Regions from separate parts of the Homo sapiens genome. Here all the other regions are linked to region 2. Evidence: promoter capture Hi-C in 16 types of primary human blood cells and fetal thymus (Javierre and others, 2016). All regions are on one chromosome and are shown on one strand. Each heading gives the region's core, a stretch centred on a gene start or on the middle of the fragment in contact. The rest is flanking DNA. Distances are from core to core; before and after follow the strand shown.

Region 1 (3,358 bases), core at 810-3,309, 480 kb after region 2:
ACAAAGTAGTTAGCTTTCAATTCACAGACAGTCCTTGTGTGTCAAATATCTACAAACAAACTTCTACATCTACAAACAAACTTCTACATCTCCAAAGTTTAAAATGGCTAAAAATTCACATGGACCGTGGCATTAAAAAGAGGAAGTTTAAAAGGATGATGATTGCATCCTTCTTTTTCACTCTGAGTCTAGTTTGTAGTCTATATTCATTCACTCAACAATCTATTTTTAAAAGCCTACTATAAAGCCAGAGGTTCCTCTAAGTTCTGGGGATACTGCAGTGAACATAATAGGAAAAATATCTGCCACGAGGCTTACATTCTGGGAAGATAATAAATCAATAAGAAAGTAAGATATAAGCAAGTCTGATGCTGTAGAGCAAGCTTGTCCAACTCATGGCTTGTGTGCTGCATGCGGCCCAAGATGGCTTTGTATGCAGCCCAACAAAAATTTGTAAACGTTCTTAAAACATTACGAGTTTTTTTTGTGATTCTTTTTTTTTGTAGTTGATCGCCTATTGTTTGTGTATTTTATGTGTGGCCCAAGACAATTCTTCTTCCAATGTGGCCCAAGGAAGCCAAAAGATTGGATGTGCTTGCAACAGAGAAACAGAAAAAAGAGAGAAACAGAGGGTACAGGGAAGGGGTATGGGTCTACAATTTAAAACAGGTTAGTAAAGGCCCCAGTGAGAAAGTAATGTGACCAAGCCCAACGGAGACAGGCAGGAAGTGATGTAGATATTTGAGGGAGAGCACTGCAGGCACAGGGGTCAGCAAGCACAAATGCCCTGAGCTAGGAATATGTGAAGATCACTTACTGAACATGTCTGTGGGGTCAGGCTACCTTCAAAAGGCTATATAACTATTACAATTTACTTTTAAATCTTACATATGTATGTGTGTGTAACATAAACTTTATTTCATCTTTTAAAAAGTAGGTATTTTGCACACTTTAGTCACTGCAATATCCTAGCATCCAAAACTGGGTCCACTGTATCATGAAGCTCAATACATTCTTGAATAAATAACTGAATCACCCACCCTATGGGAATAGGTATTAGCATATTCATTTTACAGATGACCAAAATGAGGCACAGAGAAATTAAGATTTGGCCAAGATTATACAGCAAGAGAGTGGTAGAACCAGATTTGAATCTAAAACGCTTAACTACCAGACCAGTTCCTTTAACCATTAATTTAGAGGACAAAATATGGATTTCCCCCTGCTATAAGCCATAAATGAAACATTTTCTTCCACAGACCTCAAAATGTCAAACTCAAGTTATAATAAAAATCACAATAGAAAAATTTAAAAAATTATTTGTTAAAATGGCACATCCTAACAATGCTGACAGATTTCAAATAATTTAAATATGCTAAAACATGCAATGTTTCATATAGAAAGAAAATTGAATTCATTTTTCATTAAGAGATGTTTTCATTTAGAAAATTTTCATTTGGGACGAGAAATCTACTTGGGCTTGAACCAAAGCAATACTAAAATCAGGAACATTTACTATGGTAGTTTTCCTTGTTGTTATCTAAATCTTGCTGAACCAATTTTCTTAGCTGTCATGATAATTCAGAACAATAAAAGACACTGTGCAATATTGTGTAATCTTTTAAAATGCCAATAAGAATTATATCTGATAAAAATACACACATTTTATAACATAAAACCGTTATCAACTTTTATATCTTACAGCTTAGATTTTCATCACTAGCTAATTTCCTTTTAACACTAAATAAAAGTTCCAAAATCAGTACATAAACTCGTAATTTAACCTATTTTAGAAAACAAAAAACATTTCTGTGTGAAGGGAATTACAGAAATGTCAACTGAGCACTCAGTGGTTGAAATGTCCAAGTTTTGTGGAGGTTTCAGGTTAAAAGCAAAGAGAACCACAAGCTGTTTCTCATCTCTGAGTGATCTGTGCTTTCTCATCACATACCTGGAGTAAGAGATTGGTTCTGAAGGAAAAAGCCGGGCTGCTGGGGCTGGCCCACGAGGTTGTAACCCCACAAGGTGGACTGTGGATGGTGCATCATTTGGGAGGAGATAGGCGAGTAATTAGGAGGCACTCGGTATATGTTGCTCTGTGGATATTCCTTCAACATAAAGTTTTTTAAAAAGTTACGTAACTCCACATATCACACAGCTAATTAATGCAAATAACTTCAGTAAGCTATCTGAGGTACCTCCTATCCCAATGTACAAAGCTGTTTTTTATAAAGGAGAAGATGGAAGGAAGAGTGCTAATAAATCCCCTGGAAATATTCATTTGAGGTAAACTTTTCCTTGACTTAAACAGTGCTTGGCTTGCAGTGGGCAGAGATGGAAAAGGATCTCTTCTGAATTCTATTTCAAAAGACTACAAGTGTGTCAGGAATACCAATACTGAACGACACTCATCACTGAAAAAGCACCTTCAGTTGCTAAGACTCATGATCATTTCATCTTAGAAGGCCTTTCCAATATCTTGGGTCTGGAGAATTACGCCAGAGAGCCCTACAGTGCTTCAGAACCACTCTTTGGCCAAGATGGTATTTCACTTGCAATTTTCCAGACATCGTTCTAAAGAAGTAGACACTCCCCTCATCCCCCATGCTTCCTCTTCCTTATAGTAGCTGCAAAGCCTGTAAGGATCACACCTGAAGGTCTCAATTTCCCTACCTTCCCTCATCTAGTCTAGCCCTAGAGGATGGAAGAGAAACAAAATCTCATTTCCCTGCAATTTTACTGAAGAGCATATCTCATTGAAAAGAGGGAGCTTCAGGAAGAATAGAGGAAGAGGGGACATGACCAGACTGACCTGGGGAGCAGGATTGGTTTCAGGGCTTTTTCATCAGAAAAGAACAAAAGCCCATCCACGTGGACTGACAGGCTGGAAACCCCAAATTTGAGGGAGTGTCAGTCTGGACCATTTTAAACTTCCCTTCAAGACAAAGGAATACTGGTAGGAAGACTGAATGAGAAGGGGGCACTGATGCTCAAGTGGCATCCTAAAGTGGTGGTGGTCATTTCTAAAATAGTATTAATCACCAAGCTATCAGCTAGGAAAAGATGTATTTTAGTTCTCACATAGGTAAACAATAACCAATCATGAATATCTGAATGAAATGGTGAATATTTCTTCCACTGTGCAGCAAGAATGCTGTGGAATTTCATTAAAAATGTCTCAAATCCTCTATCAAATATTTTCCAGGTTTTAATTTAATTTAAATAGAAAAACATTTTATGCATTACTTCTCAAGGTTTATAAAATTATTTCTAAATCACCATCAAATAGATTTCTGTTGTAATGAAAAGATTATTATACGTGGGGAACACTAATAGAGAAACAAGAAGTAAAACTATT
Region 2 (3,179 bases), core at 157-2,656:
TTAACTTGAAAATGTTTTTTACTTTAAATATATTCAGCCTTTTGAAAATCTGCATTTTTGAAATTTACTTTAAAATATATATGTGATAGTTTCTTAGCTTTTTAATTGTTTGTTTTTATAGTCATCACAATTAAACAAATAACATTTGTAAAATGTTTACTTTTAAGTGCTACCTTAAGGCAAATTTACATGGTAACATGAGAATTTTTTTTAACAAATTACTTTTTTGATTACTAAATAATTTGAGCAAAAATATATATTCACACTGAAAAGATATAATAATTTAACATTTGTAACTTTATTTTTATGTATTCCATACATTACACCAGAAATTAAGGTATTAAAAAGTAATAGTATGGCACAAATTGTGTATTAACTTCTTTAAGAATACCACACACATTTTGAAAAGTTATGGAAGGTAGAATAGAAATGGTTTCTGCAATTTTTCATTTTTCCTAAGTAAATTAATTATTGGGTAATATCATTTTTACACACATAAATGTTAAATTTAATTTTTAGGATGCCTGAAAATTCCCCCAAATACATTATTTTCTAAACATAAAAATATTATGCCCCAGCACAGTGGCTCATGCCTGGAATCCCAACACTTGGAGAGGCCGAGATGAGTGGATCACCTGAGGTCAGGAGTTTGAGACCAACCTGACCAACATGGTGAAACTCCATCTCTACTAAAAAATCCAAAAAAAATAGCCGGGCGTGGTGGTGGGCGCTTGTAATCCTAGCTACTCTGCAGGCTGAGGCAGGAGAATTGCTTGAACCCCAGAGGCGGAGGTTGCAGTGAGCCAACACATGCTGTAAATGTGTCACTCTGGCACTCAGACACTCTAGCCTGGGTGACAAGAGTGAAACTCTGTCTTAAAAAAAAAAAAAAAAAAAAAAAATATATATATATATATATATATGTATGTATATGTGTGTGTGTGTGTGTGTGTGTGTGTGTGTGTATGTATCAAATACATGATTGTTTCAAATCATTTAGGAACTTTAATTTTTCCCCATAAGTAGTTATATTTATTTAGGTAAATCCAATTACTATTTTGTTGAAATATAAGTTGTTGAGATGTTAGCAAATATAATAAATCCTTTTACATAAAATAAAATTAGTATTTGACAACTAAAAGAAGACAGTTAATTTGTTGAAAAATAAACGTAGAGATAAAAATGACTTTTTTTTTTCAATTATTTTGCTGTTTTACATCTATTTATAAAGAATTAATTTAAACACTTAATACTGAAAACCTTAATTGCTCACAGGTCACCTTTAGAAGGAAATCTGGCCTTACTTTATACACTGAGAGGCACAATTTGCCATGTAGCTTACCATTCTGTTGGAAGACTTGATCCCTTGACAGGAACTCTGCCAGCAGCTGGATATAGCTTCTGACCCAGTGTTGTGCCACTGGACATGGTTATTACAGTGTCCTATTTGCATATCCTATTTGCATATCCTGCAGCCAAGATTAATAATTCAAAAGCCCAGGAATAATTTATTCAGTCAAACCTCCCAGTCAGAGATGTTCATGCAGAGGAATTTTTGTGAGGCTTTTATTTTCACATTCACATTTATTTTATTTTCACATGCAGTTTTGCAATTGAATGACAAAAAACAAGTAACTCATTTCACAGGAAACACATTTACCAAATAGATTTTTAGAAAAACACTGTTGAACTTATTTTATCCACTACCAAAGCAACAGAGAAGCATTCCTTATTTTCATTTTATTTGCATATTTACACAATAAGAAGTGGTAAATACTGCTTATATTGGGAATACAGTTGCCTCTGCTTTTCTTCTTTTTTAAAATTAATTTTCTTAGTGAATTCTGTATTGAGAATATAATAACGAAACCTCTGTTTTCAATAACTTTGAGGGAACTATAAAACTGAAATTTTAAAGGGAAACCTGGATATATGCTATGTTGGTGTACTAGCAAAAAGATACTAGAGCTTCAAGTTATTTTCCATTTTATTTTCTGTGCTTAAAATCAAGAAACACATAAAAGATACATCAGATAGCTAGGGATTAGGGAGAGAGATGCTAAGTAAAATAACCTTAATAGATGGCAATTTATATATCCCAATCAATGCTCTGAAAAACATCTGGAAGTACATTACCACCATTTCAGACAGGAAGCACACCTGGCTTTTTCCAAGCATTATATTAGGTTTAGATTCAAGTAAACACTCAGTCTTCTTGATGTGAAGCATAGGGATTATACTAAGAAAGCCCATAATTGTGCAGGCAGCAGTAATTCAATTTAAATGCTATGTAAGTTGAATATTGAGTTAGCAATGACAGGCAGAAGCCCAAAAAGAAGCTCTGTTACAGGCATCCTCCTAACTAAGCATTTCTCCTCACCAATATCTGACAGCTTAAAAACTCAGGAACTCAAAATATATGTATGTATATATACACATACATATATACATACATATGTGTCTATATTACACACTTTATATACATGTGTAAAATATATTTATACATGTATGAATATTTATGTATACAAACATGTGCATTTACATGAAATAAAAATATCTATAATTTGTTGAGTTCTTGTGATGTGGCAGGCAGGTATTACACTAAGTACCTTTATGCATCAAATGCATATAGTAATCCTCTGAGGTTGTTATTATTTAAGATTTTTCTCATTTTGCAGATTAAAAAGCTAAGGTTCAGAGAGGTCAATTAACTTTCTCAAGATTGCAGAATCAATAACGGGAGGGACCAGAGCTTAAGCCTATGTACTTGGATTCTAAAAGCACCGACTCTGATTCTTGACTGCCTACAGAATTGAATGACAATACCCTTGTGCACAACAAAGTCTAAGAATTAATAACAGGTATTTTTCAGTAATGCAATTCTTTTCTACTTTTAGAAGGAAGAAAGGTTAAAACATTATTTTTGTCTATATTTTTAAAAGGGCAAAAAGCATTTGAATAACCAATGCCAGGCTTGTTAATTTTAGACATAAATTAACATGAACCCCTTCCAAGAAACAAAGACAAATGGATGTATTTCACAGGTTTCTGCCACCATTCTGATGGAAGAAAAGAGTAATTCCCCCTTTGTGGGGTGGTGGGAGTTCCCGAGAGCTTCCTCTTTCTTCGTCCCACTTCCTGACTACCATCTCACTCTGGCTGCTAAGACAAAAATTGGT
Region 3 (3,407 bases), core at 379-2,878, 460 kb after region 2:
AGAGGCACATGTATGTTTAAATGGCAGTAGGTGGGGGGAGTGAAAGAGAGAATAATAAAGCAAATGTGACAAAATGTTAAGAATTAGTAAATCTGGGTAAAGGGCTTATGGAAATTCTTTGTACTATTCTTGCAAATTTTCTGTCATTTGAAATTATTTCAAAACAAAAGGTGTATCTCGTTCTTGTACGGGACACTAGACTCAGCTAACAGTGGTGCATCCAAAGGAATCTCTTCTACAACATTTGCTAAGTAACAGCCAGTTCCTGCTAATACACATTGGATAGGTAGGCAGGCAGTGCAGTTTTACATACTACCTCTACTTTAAGAAGGTTTTCTGAAGTAGATTGCAGTAAATGTCACAAACATATATATATTTTTAAATCAGAGCTGGAAAAACTAGATCCATAATTAAAAAGAATTAACTTAAAAATGGGGAATAGGCCGGGCACAGTGGCTCACGCCTGTAATCCCAGCATTTTGGGAGGCCAAAGTGGGTGGATCACCTGAGGTCATGAGGTCAAGACCACAGTCTGGCCAACATGGTGAAATACAAAATTTAGCTGGGTGTGGTGGCAGGTGCCTGTAATCCCAGCTACTTGGGAGGCTGAGGCAGGAGAATTGCTTGAACCTGGGAGGAGGAGGTTGCAGTGAGCTGAGATCGCACTGCACTCCAGCTTGAGTGATCGAGTGAGATTCCGTCTCAAAAAAAAAAAAAAAAAAAGGCGGGGGGGGAGCTGGGGGAGCGGAACAAACTGGCTTACGCAGAGTTTGTTAAATGTACTATGGATGCCCTATTCCAGTTGACCATGTTCTGGTCAATCTGATTTGGACGCAGTTCTTTAACCACCTAACTCTACTCTGATCCCTCCACATGTACTATCTCTATACCACGTTGTTCCCCCTTTTCTACAAGTTGTGAAACCAGCTAGTTTAAAAATCCTGTGCTGAAGGCAGTCTACACTAGTGTTTCTCAAAGTGTGAGACATGAGCGGTCAGCCAGCTCATCGTAGGTAGGGCTCATTCATGCAATTCACATCACTCAGTTAAATGGAGATTCCCTTCTAAATTATTTTTGTATTTACTTTCACAGATATTTCCAATATGTGGCAAGTGATATAATTATGGATGGTAATGATAAAATGCTTCTTTGAAAACTACATTTATTTAAGCAAATATAATAAGATGACAGTTTAAAAAAAAGTAATTAATGAAACAGGAATATGGCTGTTGTAAATGACTGAGGTTTAGAAAACTTTGATGGCTATGCATATGACATTTCCAAATTTGATTTATGAAGCTAGAGAAGTGAACTATCCGACTGTGAGTTACATGAAAACTCTTGCAGCAAGTGCTAACTGAATGAAAAACAATTTCTTATTGAAGATAATAGATAATATTTTAGAAAGTGCGCCCATGGTTTTTGAGATTATAGTAAAAATCAAAGTATGGTAAGACACTCTTTTAAACATACATAGTAAATCATCGTTTTATCATTGTTTAGGAAAAAAAGACCACGTCTCAATGTAAAAAATTTTGTCTGTGGAACAGTCCGAAAAATTTTGAAGAATAATGGTATAACCTACTGAATCCCAAATATTTACTTGTATCTTCCTATGAAAATAAATATACCAACTACAATGACAATAAAACTCTAGTAAAGTTCTAGGAAAAATTTTTAGGGTATACTTAGGCTTTGTCGATTCTTAACAATCTTATGAACATGAACAATGCAACCTGCTTTTAAAGAAGAAACCCACATGTCTGATTCCAAAACAACAGGCCTTACCAAGGGCTGCTGGGGCTGCATTGCTTGGAGACCAAGGGTCTGACTCTGGGACTGCGAGGACTGCTGGGGCTGGGGAGGCTGCTGGGGCTGGGGCTGCTGGGGCTGCTGCATCTGGAAAGAGGGTAAAAATGTTATACACTTAAAAGGAAGAAGAAAACAGCATTGCTGAATCTGTTTCCCCCATATACCTTTTATCTAATTTTTATGTTGTAGTAAAAACAATATATACCTGCCTGCTGCATCTCTACCTTGCTGAACCTCATTCGTCCTTTTGAGGGCAAGACCTAAACCTGCTCATCCATGAAGCCTTCTAGGACCACCCCAACCCTACGGATCTCTTCCACTGGCAGTCAGTACTGCTGTCTATTCCACACTGCGCTGTCCGGGGCCATCCCTTCTGCTTACTGTTTTAATTCCTTTCATGTCCTTTGTCCTTCCGCATGTTTTATCCCTTCTTACACTACAGGTTGGACGGGGACTGCTCAGTAGTAATCCTCTCATTCTTTATGATATCTGGCAGAATTCTTAAAGGTTTTTTTTTGTTTTTTGTTTTTTTCCAAAAGGAAGAGGCAGACTAGTCGCCATGACACCTTCTGGCATAATTTACATCAGAAATTCAGAAATCATGTCAGTAACAGGGTTGGCTCAAACACACAGCTCTTGGAAAATGCTTCCAAGTCACAGAAAAAGCACAGACCAGACATCCACAAGGTGGGACACAGAGGAGAGAAAAATATTAATAGTTGTTTTGTTTTGTTTCAATGACCTTTAAAATTTCCTCCACCCAAACACTTCATCCTGATAATGATGACAGTCTAGACATTTCTTCATCTTTTGTACTTTTCCAACTTGGTTTGCATACTATCCCCTCAATTACTGGTCTGCTTTACAGCCAACTAATAAATAGCTATTGCCATATGGCATGTCTCACTAAGTGACAATGCTCATGGATCTGGAATCCTAGCAGAGGTCTGGGTAGCATGATCCCAACAAGAACAACGCAAGTTGGACCCAAATCACAATGACTGCAATATGATTCTCCAGTTAGCCCTCTAGAACCTCTTCTAAGAAAAATTAACCCAACTTCATCATTATTAACTTTTTCCTTTACAGAGGTGGCCAGTCACCAAAAAAGAAGTATAATCCTGTTGTAGAAGCAAATCACTTATCTCCAGGGAAGAATGTGTTGATGATGAAAAAATTACCAGAAGGACATATTATGCTAATTAGGATAAAAAGTACATATGGTCTAATAAGAAAAGGCTTTCCGTATTTGCAGCCTTGAAAAACACCAACATAAGATTTAAAACTGGTAAGTAAACAAATAATGTGGTAACTTTCCTCAGTGATTTGGAAATGAGAAATTCTAAACTAGAGCAAAATATAAATTATCAATCCTAAAAAATTCTGAAACATAGCCTCAGAACTTGGAAAAAATGATTTAAGAAAGTGAGTACTCATAGTAATGATAATAGTCATAACATTAATCGTAAAATTATCAAATGAGTGGTTTACTTGAATATTCTTATTTAATCCTTTCTACATATTTAAGAGATAGGTACTATAAGTATTTCCATGACAAAACAGGATTAGAGAGCTTTTACCATTGGAAACAACAT
Region 4 (3,174 bases), core at 402-2,901, 430 kb after region 2:
CTGAGCACAGTGGCTCACGTCTGTAATCCCAGCACTTTGGGGAGGCCAAGGTGGGTGGATTACCTGAGGTCAGGAGTTCAGGATCAGCCTGGCCAACATGGTGAAACCCCTACTCTACTAAAAAAATACATAAATTAGCCGGGTGTGGTGGTGGGCACCTGTAGTCCCAGCTACTCGGGAGGCTGAGACAGAAGAATTGCTCGAACCTGGGAGGCGGAGGTTGCAGTGAGCCAAGATTGTGCCATTGCACTCCAGCCTGGGCAACAAGAGTGAAACTCTCTCAATAAAAATAAAATTAAATAAAATAATCCAGGAATAATTTTAGCAATCTGAAGACTAGATGTCCTAATTTTTTTTTTTTGGTCTGTCACCTAGGGTGGAGTGCAGTGGTACAATCATGTCTCCAGGGGCTCAAGCAATCCTCCTATCTGAACCACCTGAGTAGCTGGGACTACAAGTGCACACCACCATACCTAGCTAATATTTTATTTTTTGTTTGTAGAGACAGGGTCTCACTATGTTTCCAGGGCTGGTCTTGAACTCCTGGGCTTAAGTGATTCTCCCACCTCAGCCTCCCAAAGTGTTGGGATTATACAAGTGAGCCATAGGGCTGGGCTTTCATTTTAATTTAAATGTATTCTTAGTAGCCCAAAAAACGATAGCTTTATGTTTTCTAAATAAACTTTGATGACCCGTAGCAATAATTTTCTTTTTTTCTTCTCAGGACTTGATTTATCTAAGAGGAAACAGAATAGCAGGGTCCAGGTTCTCCCCAATGGTACCCTGTCCATCCAGAGGGTGGAAATTCAGGACCGCGGACAGTACTTGTGTTCCGCATCCAATCTGTTTGGCACAGACCACCTTCATGTCACCTTGTCTGTGGTTTCCTATCCTCCCAGGATCCTGGAGAGACGTACCAAAGAGATCACAGTTCATTCCGGAAGCACTGTGGAACTGAAGTGCAGAGCAGAAGGTAGGCCAAGCCCTACAGTTACCTGGATTCTTGCAAACCAAACAGTTGTCTCAGAATCATCCCAGGGAAGTAGGCAGGCTGTGGTGACGGTTGACGGAACATTGGTCCTCCACAATCTCAGTATTTATGACCGTGGCTTTTACAAATGTGTGGCCAGCAACCCAGGTGGCCAGGATTCACTGCTGGTTAAAATACAAGTCATTGCAGCACCACCTGTTATTCTAGAGCAAAGGAGGCAAGTCATTGTAGGCACTTGGGGTGAAAGTTTAAAACTGCCCTGTACTGCAAAAGGAACTCCTCAGCCCAGCGTTTACTGGGTCCTCTCTGATGGCACTGAAGTGAAACCATTACAGTTTACCAATTCCAAGTTGTTCTTATTTTCAAATGGGACTTTGTATATAAGAAACCTAGCCTCTTCAGACAGGGGCACTTATGAATGCATTGCTACCAGTTCCACTGGTTCGGAGCGAAGAGTAGTAATGCTTACAATGGAAGAGCGAGTGACCAGCCCCAGGATAGAAGCTGCATCCCAGAAAAGGACTGAAGTGAATTTTGGGGACAAATTACTACTGAACTGCTCAGCCACTGGGGAGCCCAAACCCCAAATAATGTGGAGGTTACCATCCAAGGCTGTGGTCGACCAGCAGCATAGGTAAGTCTATACCTTTGGGTTGGAATTATCTGCTTTATGTATTTAGCTGTACAACTTCTGAAATGGAAAAAGTGACACAGTGAGGCTAGCAGCAGTTTTAGAGTACACATAGACTTTGGACATAAAGGAAACTCTCTCAAAAAAAACTAATCTTTTGAGATCATTTGAATACAAAAACCATTCTTTTCACATGCTTAACTCAAAGGGTCAACTTCTTAGGGTTTTTATATTTTAGGCAGAATTAAAAAATCTCATTTATCTCCATACTTGGCACAGTTTTAAAATAGTAACTGTAGGACAGGCACGGTGGCTCACGCCTGTAATCCTAGCACTTTGGGAGGCCGAGACAGATGGATCACCTGAGGTCAGGAGTTCAGGACCAGCTCGGCCAACATGGTGAAACCCTATCTCTACTAAAAGTACAAAAAAAAAAAAATTAGCCGGGCATGGTGGCCGGGCGCCTGTAATCCCAGCTGCTTGGGAGGTTGAGGCAGGAGAATTGCTTGAACCTGGAAGGCAGAGGTTGCAGTGAACCGAGATTGCACCACTGCACTCCAGCCTAGGCAACAGAGTGAGACTTTGTCTCAAAAAAAAAAAAAAAAATAGTAATTGTATAAATATATTCACACTCTCTGTAAACAAAACAGAGAAGGGAATTTTTATGATGCAGTGGAGATTCTAGAGAGAGACACTCCGTTATTTTACTCGTCTGAGTCCCCTATTCGACATTTTAAACTTCATTATAATCAGTACTTAATTTTTTCTTTCCTAAAATTACAAAGCACTTTGTGAAAGTCACAATATTAAGACCTCCACCAAGTGAAACATATTCAGGGCCCCCGCATTCTGATGTGATGAGACACATATATACAAATACACACTTTCTCTGGTCTGTTATAGGCATATGAATATATATATTTTTTGAGACGGAGTCTCGCACTGTCGCCCAGGCTGGAGTGCAGTGGCAGGATCTCTGCTCACTGCAAGCTCCGCCTCCCAGGTTCACGCCATTCTCCTACCTCAGCCTCCTGAGTAGCTGGGACCACAGGCACCCGCCACCACATCCGACTAATTTTTTGTATTTTTAGTAGAGACGGAGTTTCACCATGTTAGCCAGGATGGTCTTGATCTCCTGACCTCGTGATCTGCCCGCCTTAGCCTCCCAAAGTGCTGGGATTACAGGCATGAGCCACCGTGCCTGGCCTCAATATTCATTTTATAGCTGGCTTTCTATATAAATTATATCTTCAAAAATCAATAATTATAGCTTATGAGGTTTTTTTTTGCAAGTGGCATGACTTTACACAATGGTTTTCCATTACAGGACAAAAAATGAGGATGAGAATTTCCATCTTATATATCTGTTTATTCATTAATAGAAAACATCCATGCAAAAAAATTACACATAGTAAATGTGAATTTGTACTCATGCTTAGGAGTTGAAGATTTTCTTCTAATGACACGAGTTGATACTGAATACAGCTAATAAATTTAACTTGTGATCTTTAGTTCAAAAGTAAATGTTAATTCTCAAGTTTTTCAAATGTCA
Region 5 (3,523 bases), core at 593-3,092, 500 kb after region 2:
CTCAATACTTATATGACTATGTAGCTATCTTTTACCATAGTTATAACATGCCTGTAAAAATACAAAAACATGACCCAGTCGGTATGACACCTATAGCAAAGTACAAAATAATATATAAGGTATGTCACTTTTTTTTTATAAGAGAACTTTTAAAACAAATATATGGGAGGGAGAATAAACCAAAAAATAATAAAACTGGATCATCTGGTAAGAGGGATATGGGAGGGAGACACATCTCTGAGTATACTTTTTTGTATAGTTTCACTTTTGAAAGTAAGCTATTCTATAGCCAGAGCTGGGGACAAGAAAGGAATTTAAATAATGCAAAACCAAATGAACCTAGTTCTATTTCACATAAAGAATACACTCATAGGGATGGGAAAAGTTCAAATAATTTTTGAACACAGTATTTTAAACCCTTAGAGAAAATGGAATTGCAAACAAATCTTCAAAGCCTTTTAGGTAGGTTTGTTCTTCCTAGTGGTATGTGTGTAACATTTCTTTCTTTCTTTCTTTCTTTCTTTGAGACAGAGTCTTGCTCTCTTACCAGGGCTGGAGTGCAGTGGCGCAATCTCGGCTCACTGCAACCTCCGCCTCCCAGTTTCAAGCGATTCTCATGCCTCAGCCTCCCAAGTAGCTGGGATGACAGGCATGTGCCACCACACCTGGCTAATTTTTGTATTTTTAGTAGAGATGGGGTTTCACCATGTTGGCCAGGCTGGTCTCAAACTCCTGGCCTCAAGTGATCCACCTGCCTCAGCCTCCCAAAGTGCTGGGATTACAGGCTTGAGCCGCTGCGCCCTAGCCTAGTGTACATTTTTGATACTGTATTTTAATTAATCATTTTTTGACAAAGCGCTGGATAGCACATTTAACATGCCCGGCCATGTGTAACATTTTAAAACTATTTCAGATGTATCATAGAATTAAACAAACAAGTAAATTGACGTTTTTGGGAATCAGCATTCTTACTAGGGAAGAAGGTGATACTAATATGAATTAGGGGAAAACACAGAACAACTTTGTGGGGTTGGATTGGAATTGAAGGTATCAGTAGGACCTCATAAATATATATATTTACATATATTTAAGTGTATGGATATATTTTTCTTTCTAGCTTTGTCTGCAGACAGGTCGTAGAATTAATGATACTCCATAACCATGAGCATACATAATACCCAGATCTTGGTTTCTCAGTAACGTTCTCTGCTAAATAGAACCAAGGGCTCCTTGGAGGAATAGTTGATTCCAGGCCCGGGGCAGAGAAAGTACAACATGGGCCAGAAACTATGAAAATACCAACTATTTTTAAAATGTCAAATGATGTGATAGGATGAATAGATTCCTACTGCACAAATCTGGGACAGTCTGAACATGAAAATAACTAAGTACAGTATATTATAACCCATATGGATAATAAATAAACAGGGGAGAGGAGGGCAGGCTCTTCCTTAAAATAGGACACAAACTGATATTATGAAGGGAGAGGAGAAGTTGGGGAAAAAAAAAAACCACCATTTTGCAACCATCATAGTAAAGACTAGACTGGGCAAGAATGAAAATGAATGCTTATGAGGGGTGGGGGAGTTAAACAAGGAGAAGAAAATTTGCACTGTCTCGAAGTATCTCCTCAAAGATTGCTTACTGCAAGGGGAAAATTAGTAACTACACAGTCCCCACTGTATAGTTACTAATCTTGAAACTATACAATGGAAACATCTTAATCAAAATTAACATCACCCTTGAGGTGCAAATGGACATCACATGCCTTCAGACATGATTACCTGAAAGAACTCAAGATTATTTCTGTAGTATCTTGGCCAGGGATGCATAATCTGAAGCTAATCTACAGGAAACCTCAGACAAATCCAACAATACTGGGACAATTAATAAAATCGAACTGTGGCCTATAGATGAGAAAAAATTACTGTACCAAAAGCTAAATTTTCTGATGTTTAATAGCTATATTTTGGTTATGTTATGAAATAATGCAATATTCAAAAGAATAAAATATACAATCTACTCTTAAATGATTCAGAAAAAATAGGTATATGCACCCACATCTCCACATACAAATTACAAAGCACATGTAGCAAAATGTAAAAATTAGTAAATCCGTGTAAAGGATGGACATGAGTTTTTTAAAAATAATTCTTGCAACTTTTCAGCAAACTTAAAATTATTTCGAAATAAAGTGAGCAAGAAAAAAAGGCCCACCTATGCACAAGTTTCCTATAAGTGTAAGTAGCTCTCTCCAAAAGAAGAGTTACGTACTCAAAGTAAAAGGCAAATTAAATTAGAATACCTGTTGACAGATAGTCCTCAGTACATATCTAGCGTATTCTCTTAAATTGGCAGTTTCTATGGAAATGCTTTTCCCACAGGATTTTGGATTTTGTGAGGCAGTCCAGATATCATCAGCATTCCCATCACATCGCAAACCTCTCATGGTGAAGTCATCATTCTTTAAAGAGCTGACACTGTTATTGCCAATTTTGGCATCTCCTAAGTAATAGAATCACAAAAGCAAAATCACAGAAGTTCAAAATATTGCCAAATAATTGAGGAGCAAATGAGGATAGCATTCAGGGATTTAAAATATATGAACAGTATTATTATTGAATAGCCAGTTGTTCAGGAATAGAGAGAATGGATCAAGAGCATAAATGCATGAACCCAGAGAAGTTTCTAACAGAAATGGAGAAAAAGCAAGTTCAAGACTCGGTCCTTATTTTGTTTGTATAATTATAGTTTCACCAAACTTGGAAAGGCCATTATGAATCACACTAAGTAATCAGAGAACATTGGTTTCACCAATATTTCAAGCATGAATGTATTCAAATTCATTTGACTTATAGACAAGGAAAAAATGGGTTACTCACCCTTCTAGATGTCCCTTTTCCATTTCTTCTCTTACAATGACTTATTTTCTATCCATAGGTCAAGAGAAAAGTTTTGCCTTAGCCCACCTTACTATCAACTTCTTGACAAGAGAGATTTATTTCCCTGGGAATGGAAAAGGGCAATGCATACTAAGGAAGCCCTGAAAAGTAGGGCATTCATTGAATAACCCCTGTTTTTTTACCTTCCTCTCTGTAACATACAAATTAGAAAACCTTACCTGATAAATCTTTAGTATACTTAGTGAAATGAAGCTAAGGAAAGTGTTTTCTTCATAACAAAGTTCTGGGAAAGAAACTAAACAGAATGTCTGAATAGCTAGAAATAAGAAAACTCTAGCCATGAGAGACAAATAACTATCATATTTTAAAAGTGAGAGAGTAATAAAAATTCAAAATAAGGATTGCCAAATGACAGCACAGCCTTCAAACTTTTGCCTTTTACTCACAGGATCATAGGCCTTGACAAGAAAATTTCCTGGAACCAACAAATGCTTTTACAGTAGGCCTTCACTGCTTGCAGCAAGTGGGCAAAACAATGCCCAAGTTAATGGAAAAAGCCTTTTAAAACCCACAAGTCAACCAAGAAAAAGTTTTGACTTTGCTGAAAAAAATGGCTTACT
Region 6 (3,458 bases), core at 431-2,930, 320 kb after region 2:
AAGCTTGGCCAACTTTGGCTTCAGCATTACATTTCTAAAATTTACTAGGTGGAAACATGTGACTGTATATGAAGATTGTGCATGAAAAATGGAATCTATCCACTAGAATTCTCCAAAACTCCTCCTAACAGACTCATTCTGGCTCAAAAATGAAATCACATGTACCATGAGTCAAAAGGTGACCCCTCCAGAGATGACAAATCTGAGTTCTGCCATACTATGCCAAACATTTTCATTGGCAAGCTCTGGGATTTCAGTGTGTGACCTCCTTAGGCCAACTTCTGCATCAAGTAGTAGGAAAAATATGTATTCACTATAGTCCCAGCTACTCGGGAGGCTGAGGCAGGAGAATCACTTGAATCTGGGAGGCTGAGGTTGCAGTGAGCTGAGATCACGCCACTGCACTCCAGCCTGGCAACAGAGCAAGACTCGGTCTCAAAAAAAAAAAAATGTATTCATGGGGCATACTTCTGAAGTCATGTGACAGCAATTATTAAACCCCAATAGTATAGCAAGAGTATGTGCTTGGCAGTGTCTTGAATGGGCATGACCTACATTTGTGGTCTTTCATTCCATTTATTCCCATCAAGCCTGGGTAATTTCTGTGATAGTAAAGCCAACCTGAAGCGAGAGTGTGACTAGAATTAACCCGAAGAACTTGGCAATTGCATCTTCTAAATCTACCTGACTTATTCTGCTCAGTGAAATGGAAATGATTTCTTTTTGTTGGGTTACTGTAACTGGACACTTAAGGCCTTTCTCATATCTCATGTCTTTTAAATGAAACTTTGCCAACTTTGGCTTCAGTGTTACACTCCTAAAATTCAGGAGGTGGAAACCTGTGACTGTACGTAAAGATTATACATGAAAAATAGAATCTATCCACTAGAATTCTCCAAAGCTCTTCCTAACAGAATCATTCTGACAAACATATTGTACCAATATATATATTATATATATATATTATATATACTTTATATTTGCTTTGCATCTGTTAAAATTGATTAAGCAGCAAGGCATGAAATACAGCTCACGGAGTTTTTTTAATAAGAAAGAAAAACTATACCCCAACTTGTGAAGATGTCTCTAAAATGTAGACAATATACTGAAGATGAGTTAACATTAAACTTAGGGGAAATGTTAAGCTTAGTAATAAACAAAGAGATCATTTGTAGCAAATAACGATCCCAGACTAGGAGAGTGCCACTATTTGCACACAGGGAAACTAAGCAGTCCACTCACTCTTCTTGTATTAGAAGCAGAATCTCTTCTTTCCAGAGAGATTGGAAGTCTATCCACAAAGATACTAATGGAATCCTTAAAGCCAGCTAATGCTACTTTATCTTACATGCTAAGGATCTTGGGTCACTCACATAACTTGTTGGGGGCTCAGAAAACATCATTGCATAATATGCCCCTTTGTATGCAAACTGAGAGCATCTGGGAAGTAGCAAATGCAGGGAAGGGAAGGGCTTTTTCTGAGGCTCCTCCGTCTAACTAAAGGCCAGATCTTTCAGAAGATAGTCAACTTCTGTAAATTTCTTCCCCACATATTCTCATCAACTAAAGGAAATTGATGCATATCACAGGAAGGAAGACTGGAGTTGGCACCACACCAGAGGCCAGGAGAACTTTGTCCTGGACAACTGTCTGTTCTTCAGGCCCATTCACCTCTCTTAAATTTATTTACTCTTCCCCTAACATTGCCTACAGCTCTCCTATGAAGAGGAAGGGTGTTTGAGCTTCAACCATCTGGCCTTTGTTTGAGTCACATATTTTGTGTGACTCCCATGCACAAGTGCACATAATAAATATGTATAGCTTTTTTCCTGTTAACCTGTCTATTGTCAGTTTATTTCAGCAGACTCAGTTATTGAACCTTCAGAGGAAATGTTTGAACTTTCCAACAAACCTAAAACTCTCTTCATCCTCCTTCTCCCCTTACCGCACCTTTTGTTATTCTCCTTCATTCATACATTGAACAAATAAACATTTTCCTCACAAACCGAAATTCCCACTCTTCCTCTCCTTCTAAAAGACTTTACAACGATCATTTGTGTAAGATGACCAGAGAAATGGTTATCCAAACTGGCATGTTATAGACAGAACGAATGGTCAGCCAGACAGGATCCCAAGGCATTAAGCAATAAAACATGACTTCTATGAAAACAGGAACTTATCCTCCCTATGCACAACTACTTAACAATCAAGCTTCTCTACATCTTTAATCTGAAACTTACCTACCATTTCCCCTACCATCCTCTCAAAGGCTGGAGAGGAGATTGTGTCAGCATTCTTCTTACTCTCCAGTGCTATGTACTGAAATCTTTTTTCTTTGAAACACATTCCATGACTCTGTCTGCTCCTTTCTCTCTCTCTCTCTTCCTTACTCTCTTCTTTTCCCTTCTACTGTATTTCTTTAACAAATTTGGCTACTGTTTACTAAAGCTTCTTACATCTTGTTCAGTTTTTCTCTCCATTTTTTGCATGACTTCAATATGCAAGCAGAAAACCTGTTCCATAACATAACCTTTTCCTTAGCATAACTGGTCTGTTTCATCAAAACTCCCATGAGAGAGCAAGGGAAAGTGTGCTCATTGAGTGCATTCTTCAGCTTAGTTTTCCACAAAGAAAGTTATGATTCCAAAGACTTTCATACATTTTGGGTAGTCTCACATCGTTTTAGTCTGTGTTAGTGGTACTTTTACCCATGGAAGTCTCTAAATATTTTTTTGTAATTTTCCTGTGAATCTGATTAGCATACATGTCATTTGGCAAAATTCACACCACTGGCTACAGAAAAATAAAGATCAAGCTTTTAAAGAATGAAAGTTAGTTTTACTCAGAATTCTTACTGAGGACTAACCAGCGGGGCCTCTGTAGCCCTAGAGCAGTTCCGTCAGACTGCTGCAGCCCAGTATTTCATCCCACTGCTCATATACAAGTAGTGAGGGTTCAGTATGTGTGAAATCACATTAAACTTGCTCAGAAGTTACACTGAGGCAGAATCATATCAAGGTTTGAGTGTAAGAGCATATCTGGTTATAGATTACAGAGGCGTAATTACTAACCCCTTGAGATGTTTTTTATTTGCAGGGAAAGGCAAGGACTAGAGTCATTTATCTTTTAAGGAATATAGTGACACAGGCCAGAGACATGGGGGGCTGCGTGCTCTATCCTGTTTTGTGTTCAAAGCATTTCTGCAGAGAGCTGCACATTGTTACAGAGGCAGGGGCTTTGTGAAATCATGCTGGCAAGCAGAAATGAGTAAACATGTCTTCTTACATTTGTTCCTTTATCTCACAACACCCATAATTCTTTTGAAACAGGCCCTGTTCTCTAGACTCAATCAGTGCTACTTTGATTAGGTCAGGCAGCTGGGAGATGAGACCCTTATGATTCCTAGCAGACTTTTGTAGGCTCAGAGGTATACCATGGACCACTTTAATTCCTTCAGA
Region 7 (3,366 bases), core at 590-3,089, 410 kb after region 2:
TGGTCACCAAGGAGCTTTGGGAGAAAGATAAACTGTGGCTGCCAAAACCCGACAAATATGCCACATTTCCAAAGCAAGCATCCAAGTTTGGACATCACGTGAATTTTTAATTTAAAAGAATCTTGTCAGCTCTGCAGAGCTAAAGACCATGTTCATATACATGCTTCTAGGGTTACTTCTAACTCTGAGTCTCTGATTCTATAATTCTACTTTGGTAACTGACTTATTACTAACCATAAATCACATGAATGCTCGGCATGGGATATGGCACATTATCCATGTTTAGCTAAGTGAGGCAGCCACAACTTTATGGTTAAACGTTCAGACCATAGGGCAAGACTGCCTGAGTTTGAATTAACGGCTTTTCTACTCACAAGCCACATGGCCTGGAGTTCTGTCACTTTCCTTCATGTACCTTACTTGTAAAATGGGAATAACATAAATACTTTCCTTTTAGGCTTTTTGGTGCTATGGTGAGGCTGAAATGAGTTGGTATTTGTAAAACATTTTTCAGAAGTTATTTCACTAAACCAGCAATTCTCACATTGTAGCTGCATCAGAATCATATGGAAGGCTTGTTAACACATGGACTCCTAAGCCTCCTTCGTACAGTTTCTGAATCAGTGGGTCTGGGATGGATCCCGCAAATTTTTGATCTTAACGAAGTCCAAAGTAATGCTGATGCTGGACCCGTGACCCTATCTTGAGATCCACTGCCCTAAAACATTCATTGCAAATTGTCATCAAAAGCTTAAGTGCTATGTAACTACGTGGAAGGAAACAAGGTCATTTTAGTTATGTTAACTCAGTGTTTATGAGTATTGGGAGCCCCACCAAGAATTGCAGGAGATATTACATGTGGGCAAGTTGGTAGAGGTGATTCTGGAGGCATCTCTGCCTCCAGATGGTAGGGTTGGAGATGAGAAAGGAGAATGTAATCCAAGCAGAAATAGTAGTATTTAAATCCGGTTCTGTGATAATGATTTAAAAGAATTCCTCTGAGACATCTATATACGATGTAATATTGTTTGGCAGTTAAAAAACAAAAGGGAAATATTGCCATTTGTCACACATGGATGAACCTGGAGGACATTATGCCAAGTGAAATAAGCCAGAAACCAAAAGAAAAATAGTGTATGATCTCACTTATATATGTGAAATCTTTTTCTAAAAGGTCGATTATACAGAGATAGAGAATTAAATAGTGGTTATAGGGGTTGGAGAAAGGAAATGGAAAAATGTAGATCAGAGAATACACAGTAGCATACATTTATATAGATCTAATGTGCAAGAGGACTATAGTTAATAAAATTGTATGGTATTTGGGATTCTTGCTAAAAGAGTAGATTTTAGCTGCTCGTGTCACAAAAACAAAAATGGGGTAACTATGTGAGATGATGGATATGTTGTTTCACTATAGTAACCATTTTACTATCTGTATATAGCCCATAACATGTTGTATACCTTAAATATACGCAATATAATTTACTTATTTTTAAAAGAGGGGTTTAAATAAAACATTGACACTGCAGGTATCACAGGTCATTAACGCTAACTTAGCCTTCAAATAGAACTTTGGGAGCCACAGGACCAAGGACAGCCTGCGGCGATTTACGTAAACCCTTAAACCAAAAGGCCCACCTGTCAACAGGTGGAAGAGGTCAAGGAGGAAATGAACGGGCGGCCACTGAAACTGCTCTGCCACCCAGCCAGGACCTGCCAACTTGCTAGGAGAAAGCCCTGGGAATTTAAAGAGTGAAGCCACGGCGAATTAGCTTCCCACACGCTCGTAAACATAAAGAGGGGCCCGGTGGTCGTTTCTCATCCTTGTGCTGCTGAGCCCCGGCCGCGTCCCCAGACACAGAAGTCGGGCTCATCCCCCGCCCTCGCTCCGCCTTCCTTCCTTCCCTCCCAGAGCTCCGGACCAGCTCCGCACGACCCCAGCAGCTGAGCCCGGGACCGAGCCCGGGACCTAGCCCGGGCAGCTCGAGCCCATTGGTCACCAGGGCAAACAGGTGAGCGCCTCGGCCAATCCTTCCCCGGAAAGGGCTGGAACCCCACGCCGGCTGGGGCTTGGCGTGGGAATGGAGCGAGTACCGTGGCTGCAGAAGCGGGCGCTGGGGCGGGGAGGGCTGAGGGTGGGGGAGGGAAGACGCACCCGGAGAAGGTGGGGGCATGAAAGCACACGACAATTCTTCGGTGACTGGTGCCAGGCAAAAAAAAAAAACACACACTGAGGAAAGACAATCAATAGATGGAGACATCTGTGACAGATTTGTCCAAAAAAGACAATTTGAGGAGAAGCTCTTGGGACTTTGGAGCAAAATGGAGTGATTAGTAGTAGTTAATATTCAAGTGATAACTTTAAGGAGTATTAAGTACACTACTGAGGGAGGAGAAAGGAAATTTAAAAACCTCCACTTAGCCTTTTGTTTCTGCAACAGCAAGCATCATAATAAAAGAACGCTTCTGGGTTAATGTGGTTATGAGTTATAGAACTTTGAAGCTGTGGAAGCGGCTCCAGGTCTCCCTGAAGAGCATTACTCCTGGCTGTAAGCCAAAAAGAATAAGGCTTTTTGCTCACTTTGGAGCAGAGAACTTTTCCTCCCTCAGGTTTGGACACAATTTTCCATTTCCTGGGAAGATTTTCTGTCTCTGCCTATGTCACAAGAGGACTCAGGACCTGAAAGAAGAGCTCAGGTATTGCCAATTCCTATTTCATTATGTACATTTTCAGCCTTACGTTTGTGAGAATCCCTTATTCATGTGTTGTCTTATGCTATTGATCCTCTTTTAAATAATTTGAACGTGGGCATACCCAGAACTTTTATTTAAGCTGAACGAGAGAATTACCTTCATCCTGCTGTTCCTTCCTTTGTTTATCTAATGATAAGGTGGAAATGCTGTCTCCAATCATACAAAGCTTATTTAAAATTATTGTAACCAGGTGGTTACGATGGCAAAAGTGGTCATATGATTAATCCTATCTTAAATTTTAATTTGGACTAAATTATAATAATACATCCATCATCTTTTTATCTGTATGAAAATCCAAGCAGTTCAGCCCCAGTGTTATTTCTCAGTGTAGTTTGTAGCTAAAGGGTGGTTGCTGGTGGAATCCAACATCATGCTGTTCCACAGAACGGTGGGATTTATTACAAATTATGAAGGTCATTTTGCTTGGAAAAGCACAATAAAGAGTTTATTTCAATCCTGCATTTCAGGAGAGAATTAGGTTTGAATTCCTGGGCTTGCCCCACATATGGGTAACAGATACCATTTTTTTTTTTCTGACAAGCTGAGCATATTTCTTCCCTGGTTATGCTCCCCACCTCCTGTGGCAGCCATGAGCTGGAGGAGGGACCA

The links. Contacts are between HindIII fragments. The CHiCAGO score rates a contact against its expected background, and 5 or more counts as called.
Region 1: a contact is called between a fragment that was not itself captured here and the fragment with the promoter of SUCNR1 in region 2, in 2 of 17 cell types (M2 macrophages and monocytes). The highest score is 6.2, in M2 macrophages.
Region 3: a fragment that was not itself captured here is called in contact with the fragment with the promoter of SUCNR1 in region 2 in 1 of 17 cell types (neutrophils); the score reaches 6.0 in neutrophils.
Region 4: a fragment that was not itself captured here is called in contact with the fragment with the promoter of SUCNR1 in region 2 in 1 of 17 cell types (M2 macrophages); the score reaches 5.2 in M2 macrophages.
Region 5: a fragment that was not itself captured here is called in contact with the fragment with the promoter of SUCNR1 in region 2 in 2 of 17 cell types (M2 macrophages and monocytes); the score reaches 6.8 in M2 macrophages.
Region 6: a fragment that was not itself captured here is called in contact with the fragment with the promoter of SUCNR1 in region 2 in 1 of 17 cell types (monocytes); the score reaches 6.5 in monocytes.
Region 7: a contact is called between a fragment that was not itself captured here and the fragment with the promoter of SUCNR1 in region 2, in 2 of 17 cell types (endothelial precursors and megakaryocytes). The highest score is 5.8, in endothelial precursors.

Annotation. Positions count from the first base shown.
Region 1 is chr3:151,388,729-151,392,086 of GRCh38, reverse strand. It overlaps MED12L (mediator complex subunit 12L), which reads right to left. Exons shown (of 45, transcript NM_001393769.1): 38 at 1,952-2,108. Among named protein-coding and RNA genes, the nearest start is that of P2RY12, 5.7 kb to the right of the region's middle. The HindIII fragment of the contact is 3,347 bases long and covers 386-3,358 here.
Region 2 is chr3:151,871,870-151,875,048 of GRCh38, reverse strand. SUCNR1 (succinate receptor 1) reads right to left here and starts at 1,406. Exons shown (of 3, transcript NM_033050.6): 1 at 1,343-1,406. All of the region lies in intron 1 of AADACL2-AS1 (AADACL2 antisense RNA 1), which reads left to right. The HindIII fragment of the contact is 8,098 bases long and covers 1-3,179 here.
Region 3 is chr3:151,414,804-151,418,210 of GRCh38, reverse strand. MED12L (mediator complex subunit 12L) reads right to left here. Exons shown (of 45, transcript NM_001393769.1): 43 at 1,789-1,899. Among named protein-coding and RNA genes, the nearest start is that of P2RY12, 32 kb to the right of the region's middle. The HindIII fragment of the contact is 4,689 bases long and covers 1-3,407 here.
Region 4 is chr3:151,441,435-151,444,608 of GRCh38, reverse strand. It overlaps IGSF10 (immunoglobulin superfamily member 10), which reads left to right. Exons shown (of 8, transcript NM_178822.5): 7 at 725-1,625. Among named protein-coding and RNA genes, the nearest start is that of IGSF10, 18 kb to the left of the region's middle. The HindIII fragment of the contact is 9,167 bases long and covers 1-3,174 here.
Region 5 is chr3:151,371,549-151,375,071 of GRCh38, reverse strand. MED12L (mediator complex subunit 12L) reads right to left here. Exons shown (of 45, transcript NM_001393769.1): 27 at 2,306-2,505. The region is part of intron 1 of P2RY12 (purinergic receptor P2Y12); the gene reads left to right. Among named protein-coding and RNA genes, the nearest start is that of P2RY12, 11 kb to the left of the region's middle. The HindIII fragment of the contact is 7,321 bases long and covers 1-3,523 here.
Region 6 is chr3:151,555,512-151,558,969 of GRCh38, reverse strand. The region is part of intron 1 of LINC02066 (long intergenic non-protein coding RNA 2066); the gene reads right to left. It also overlaps a transcript of IGSF10 not described here. Among named protein-coding and RNA genes, the nearest start is that of LINC02066, 5.1 kb to the right of the region's middle. The HindIII fragment of the contact is 1,066 bases long and covers 1,148-2,213 here.
Region 7 is chr3:151,459,595-151,462,960 of GRCh38, reverse strand. IGSF10 (immunoglobulin superfamily member 10) reads left to right here and starts at 1,900. Exons shown (of 8, transcript NM_178822.5): 1 at 1,900-2,015; 2 at 2,614-2,700. The HindIII fragment of the contact is 2,173 bases long and covers 753-2,925 here.